Linked DNA regions of Homo sapiens: region 2 is linked to region 1. The links are contacts of gene promoters, found by promoter capture Hi-C in human tissues and cell types (Jung and others, 2019). All regions are on one chromosome and are shown on one strand. Each heading gives the region's core, a stretch centred on a gene start or on the middle of the fragment in contact. The rest is flanking DNA. Distances are from core to core; before and after follow the strand shown.

What was found. The method cuts DNA at HindIII sites, captures the fragments that hold promoters and counts their contacts. A contact is called where the count stands out against the background at its distance.
Region 2: the fragment with the promoter of CABIN1 here is called in contact with the fragment with the promoter of SPECC1L-ADORA2A in region 1 in 2 of the 25 tissues and cell types used here (dorsolateral prefrontal cortex and heart right ventricle).

Annotation. Positions count from the first base shown.
Region 1 is chr22:24,269,083-24,272,177 of GRCh38, forward strand. SPECC1L-ADORA2A (SPECC1L-ADORA2A readthrough (NMD candidate)) reads left to right here and starts at 1,735. Exons shown (of 20, transcript NR_103546.1): 1 at 1,735-1,901. SPECC1L (sperm antigen with calponin homology and coiled-coil domains 1 like) reads left to right here and starts at 1,749. Exons shown (of 17, transcript NM_015330.6): 1 at 1,749-1,901. It also overlaps the pseudogene RPS10P29. RefSeq lists a silencer at 1,538-2,067 and an enhancer at 2,128-2,207. The HindIII fragment of the contact is 12,728 bases long and covers 1-3,095 here.
Region 2 is chr22:24,010,040-24,013,194 of GRCh38, forward strand. It overlaps CABIN1 (calcineurin binding protein 1), which reads left to right and starts at 1,265. Exons shown (of 37, transcript NM_012295.4): 1 at 1,265-1,328. The HindIII fragment of the contact is 7,958 bases long and covers 1-3,155 here.

The DNA of each region.
Region 1 (3,095 bases), core at 485-2,984:
ATATGCAAAAACGCTAAATAAAATATTAGCAAATAATCCAGCAATGGATTAAACATGTATCACGACCAAGTTGGGGTTTTCCTAGGAAACTAAGATTATGTAATAAAAGAAAAAACTATTAAAGTAGTACAAACTATCAAAGGAAAAAACCTGTATGATCATTGCAACAGGTTCATTTGCGACATAATACAATTTTTTTCTTTTTTTTTTTTTAAGTCTTTTTGGCTGTAAGTTTATTCAATGCAAAATAATCCTCTCCAATTCTACTGAGGTGGCTGACGGTGTCCACGACCAAATTTGCCTCTAAACTGGAATTCGGTTGCTGACCCAGCCCCAGCCTCGGCTTTCTTGTCGGCACCAGGGGGCACAGCACTCCTTCTGTAGGTATCTCTGTCGGCTTCTCCTCTTGTGAGTCTTGCAGGTCGCTCACCCTCCAGACCTTTAGACCGAGGCCTGCCAGTCCCTGGACGGCTGCGGCGTAGGGTGGCAGGCACAATCTCCAGGGGCAGATGAAGGTAATCACGGAGATACTGGATATCCTCATTGGTAAGGTACCAGTAGACATGTCTCCAGGCAAACTGTTCCTTCACGTAGTAGCCTCGGGACTACATGACAGGAAGGTTGGGCACACACATTCTTTTTTTTTTGAGAGGAGTCTCACTCTGTCGCCCAGGCTGGAGTGCAGGGGCGCGATCTCGGCTCACTGCAACCTCCGCCCCCTGGGTTCAAGCAATTCTCCTGCCTTGGCCTCCCGACTAGCTGGGATTACAGGTGTCTGCCACCGCGCCTGGCTAATATTTTTGTATTTTTAGTAGACACGGGTTTCACCATCTTGGCCAGGCTGGTCTTGAACTCCTGACCTCGTGATCCGCCCGCCTCGGCCTCCCAAAGTGCTGGGATTACAGGCCTAAGCCACCGCGCCCGGCCGGGCACATTCTTGTCTGCCAACTCCAGGTGCTTAGGCATGTGGACATCCTTCTTGACCACCGTGACTTCCTCTTTAAAAAGGAGTTCATAAATGGCAATCCGGTTTTTCTTAGGCATCAGCATTCTGGGGAGGAGCAGCCGCTAAGGTGGCAGGGTGGCCCGGATGGGGGCCGATGGAACTCGAACTCCCCCAGAATTTCTTTAATATTTTATATATATATATATATATATATACATATATATATGTATATATATACACATATATATACATATATATATACGTATATATATATGTATATATATACATATATATATACGTATATATATATACGTATATATATATGTATATACATATATATATACATATATGTTGCTCGCTTATTCTTTTTGTCTGTTCCCTTATGTACCGGGAGTGCCAGGAGGACAGGGCTTTGTGTTTTCCTCACTGCTGTCTGGCTCATGCATAGCACAGTCCTTGGCACACGGTAAACACGCTGAGGAGAACTTTTGGGACTAGCGGACTCTGAGCATCATTCCGCTGGGCCCAGTGGGGCCTCTGAAGGGACCCGCCTTGCCCGGCTCCAGCCCAAGACCTGAGGCATGCGCACCGGCTGGCCGGCTACTTTCTTGACCGGCCAAGTGGCAGAGCGGCTGCGCGACCCAGTGCCGAGACGGACGCGAGCCGGAGATGGGGGAAGGGGAGGGGGTGGTGGTGGGGGACGGCGGCGCCTGCGCAGTGAAGGAATGTAGGCGGGGCCTCCACGACGCCTGCGCAGACGGCCGCAGCCCTGCTGGGCGCGAAGGGGCTGGCCAAGGGCGGGGCCCGCGAGGGAGGCCGGGCGGCCCGGCAAGCGGCGCTGCGGGGTAGGCTGCTTTCCTGAGGCCGGACTCAACGGGTCTCGGCTGAGCCACCGGGTGAGCTCACCGCCCAGCCCAAACCAGGAGATTGCGAGGGAGCGATGCGGTGCAGCGCGGTAAGAGCAGCAGCCGGGTTCCCGCAGTGTTCGCTGGCGGGTTGGTTTATCGCCTCAGCGCCGCCCGCGCTGCCGCGCCCGGGCGTCCCCGCAGACCCCGGCAGGCCCAGCGCCTGCGCCGTCTCTGCTCCTGGGCCCCTCCAGTGTGTCCCGCGCCTGCGCCTTTCCCTTCCCGCGCCGTCCTCGTTCTGGGCTTCGGGGCTTCTGGAACAACCCGCAGGCTTCGCCGCCGAGACCCACTGGCCTTCGTCCGTTGGTGTTGGGGTTCAGCTGGTTCTGGGACCCCGCTTGCGGCTTGACTGTGTGCAGACAGGCCGGGTGCGACCCTCGTGCTTGCCTTTCCGCCGCTCCGGGAGAGGCTGGGGCTGCCGCCCCATCGCCCGGGTCCCTTGCCTGGGGCGGGGACAGCGTTGTTCAGTGGCCCCGAGGGCGCAGAGCGGAGGAGCAGGGGCCACAGGCGGCGGACCCCGGGCCTGCTGCCGGTGCTGCTTCTGCTGTGGCCGGCGCCCGAGGCGGACGGAACGTCCTTTTTTCTTGAGACGTGGTTAATTGCATCAGGTTGGATGTGAATAATCCGGTACCTGTCTGAGGAAATTTTGCGTTTCCAGGAATTTGGTAATTGTATTACCTTAAGTAGTTAAGTCTAAGACATCATAGTCGCGGCACGTTGGGCAAGCTGCCCTGGAGATGACGAAAAGAAATCAGTTTCCAGTAGTTTTAGCCCATTTACAGAACACGCAAAAATTCTGTGATCATTCAAATGCGGGGAACCTTGATTTGTTGATATCCTTGATCATTTGTCCAAGTACCAGAAGGGCGAGGAAAAGATTCCCGTGAACAGCCCAGGTGATTTCAGGGAACAGTGTTTTCTTTTGTCAAAAGAGCCTCTTAAGCCATGATAATATTTCCCAAGCTTATAACAGATACAAGCCTTTAAAAAATGGCATTTGCTGTCACCCAGTAGGACACATCTTGAGATGAAATCAGAGCTGTAGGCTTTGTAGACAACAGCAGTCATTTCTGGTGGCTTCAGGGAGTGGAGGGGGACTGCAATTTTGCCAATGTAGGTGATACCAAAGGGACTATAGTAATTTTTTCTTCGTAATTAAAAACCAGGCCAGGCGCGGTGCCTCATGCCTGTAATCCCAGCACTTTGGGAGGCCGGGGCGGGCGGATCACCTGAAGTCAGGAGTT
Region 2 (3,155 bases), core at 15-2,514, 260 kb before region 1:
CTTCCCACCTATTTTCAACTGTTTCTCTCCAGCGCATCTTTCATGATAAGGCTTGAGTGGAAGCTGTATCCGAGGCTGAAGGTTATCCATGCAGCTTTGAAACCATCTGTTTATGCTTCTGTTTACCCCCCAAATACTGTTTACCCCAATACTCAAAGTCAAGGTTGGTGACTCAACAATTTTCAGAACTTCTAGCTTATCAGTATAGCTTTATTGTACTGAACTGAGTTTTTCACCATGCTGTTACTGTCTTTGAGGTTAAAAAGCCCCCAACATTCACTCCTATTTGAATCATCTGTGCAAGACTCAAGCAGCTATGAATTCAACCACAGTGTAAAGTTCTTCCCTACAATGCTTTATTGTTATTCTAGCTCCCAAGAGAGTACCATCTTTCAGCCCAAGACCCTTGACAGAACCCCTTCAACTCTGTCGCCTTTTTTCATCTCTGGAATTCTGACACCACCCATGACCCCTCTTCTTGTTCATTTACTAGGTTTTGTTCCTTTTTTTCCTTTTGTTTCAATATCCTATTGTATCTGTTCCTTTTGGGCTTCACATCCTTTTTGGAAAGAGAGGCACAGGTAATATAATGAATGAGGATGCTCCTCCTCCCTGGTTCCCTCTAAGTCAAGTTTCTCCAACGCGCTGGTCTGCTTGGCTTTGAATGCGGCTCAACACAAATTCATAAACTTTCTTACAACATTTTGAGATTTTTTGGTGATTTTTATTTTTATTATTTATTTATTTATTAACTTATCAGCTATCCTTAGTGTTAGTGTATTTTATGTGTGGCCCAAAACAATTCTTCCAACGTGGCCCAGGGAAACCAAAAGATTGGACACCCCGCTCTAAGTGTTCCCCAAGTTTCCACTGTTTTCAGAGCACATGTCCCAGGTAATAACACACAGCCCATCATTTAGTGACTGCTCAGGGTGCAAGCTGTGGAGAAGAGAGTCCGACTACGAGCTGGTGCTCTAAGCCTCCAGCACGCTAGGACTGACGACGGGGATCCGGAAACAACAAGCTCCACTCCCGCAACACACACACACACACACACACACACACACACACACACACACACACGCACACGCACACGCGCACGCGCGCACACACGCGCACACACGCGCGCACGCGCGCGCGCGCCGCCCAAGGGTAGCCGTCTGCAGGGCCCCAGCTAAGCAGCCCGCGGAGAGCGAGCGGCGCGTGCGCCCCCGCTGATTGGCTGGCACAACCGGCACCGGAGCCAATGGGAGCACGCCTTGTTGTCAGGCGCGCAGCCGGACGGCGCGGTGGTCGGGACAGACTGGCCGTTGCTGTGGAGACGCCTGGTGAGTTCCTGGAAGGCTGGTTTGAAGGCGGTGCCGGGGTGGGGGTGAGGCTCAGCAGAGCCCGGGGCACAGGCCGGAGGGGCTGCAGGCGCGAGGCTGGGTTACGTGAGGAAGCTGGGGGTTTCGCGGGCAGCTTTAGAGCCCCAGTCAGGGAAACCGAGGCCGGGCTTCCTGGCTGCCTCGCGAGCCTCTTCATGGCTCTCGCCGCCGCCCTGAGGTGCCTAGAATGGGTTCCGGCCTCCGGGGAGGTTCCCAGTAACCGCAGGAGCCACCATTGATTTGGCGTCTGCTGGGTGCAAAGCCCAGCGCGCTAACCCTTTACTCGCGACCTTTCGCTTCACCTTCACAGCAGCCCTGCGAGGTGAGTGTTGTTATTGGTGCCATTTACAGGGGTGGAAACTGAGGCCGCGGGTAGGTGAAATGATTTGCTCCAAGTCACCCAGTGGGTGAGCGCGACTCCAGACTGAAAATTTTGACCGTTCTGCTTCACTGCCTCCCCGCAAGAGGCGGGCCCTGGCCAGATGGAACTCACCTGGCATTCCCAAGGTATCTGCACAAGTGGCTTTGGGAGTCACTTAACTCTTCAGGACCTGGGTTATTACAGGTTATAAGTGTGGGACCGTCGGATTCCATGTGGCTAAGATTCTTTCTATGTGATTATTGTGGTTAGAAATAGAATATGCTTAGAACAGTCTCGTTCAGCGGTCGGCAAACTTTTGTTGTAAATATATCAGTGTTTACATTGTTATATTGTAAGTATAATGAGTATAATAGTATTCATAATAGTAGTTTAGGCTTGGGGGGTCCATACTCTGTCTACTTAACTGTAGCGATGTAGTGTGGATACAGCCAAAGACAATACATAACAGACTAGCTGCGTCGCAATAAAATTTTAATTATAGGGACCGAAGTTTTAATTTTATATATTGTTAATATAATTTTCACGTGTCATGATTTTTTTTCCCAAATATGAAAAAATGTAAAAACCATTCTTTGCTCGTGGGCTGTACAAAAAGGGTGGGCTGGTTAGCTTGCAGAACCCTCATCTAGTACAAAGCCTCATACATGAGGGGAAACAGACTGAGAGACTGACATCTATGTCAAGTCAGTCACACAGCCAGGGCACTGCCACCACTGAGCTTAAGACATAGGCTTCCCACCTTCCAGGCCAGGAAACATCCCCAGTTATCACTCTGGATCAGGGTGCTGAGGTCTGAAGGTGTGCTACTCTTTATCGTGTTCTGAGGCCATGGAAACTATATTCTAAGGGGTTTGGAAACTTATTAGCTTAGACTAATAAGCCTGGTGAATGTGCTGCTATCTGAGGAAATGCAGCTGCTGGGCTGGGAGTCAGAAATGAATAGATATTTTTCTTTTTCATGATTATTCAATAGCTTTTGTGTGTGTGTGTGTGACGGAGCCTTGGTCTGTCGCCCAGGCTGGAGTGCAGTGGCATGATCTCGGCTCACTGCAATCTCCGCCTCCCGGGTTCAAGCAGTTCTCCTGTCTCGGCCTCCCGAGTAGCTGGGACTACAGACACCCGCCACCATGCTTGGCTAATTTTTGTATTTTTAGTAGAGACGGGGTTTCACCGTATTGGTCAGGCTGCTCTCAAACTCCTGACCTCAGGTGATCCACCCGCCTCGGCCTCTGAAAGTGTTGGGATTACAGGCGTCAGACACCGCGCCCGGCCTCAATAGCTTTTTTTTTTTTAAAAGCTCCTTTTAGTGAGTTTCTTGGATTTATGGTGAACAATACATAAATGGTTACCATCCTCACATTGCTTACAGATGATAAATATATAATCAAAATGGTTATTTCTTTTTA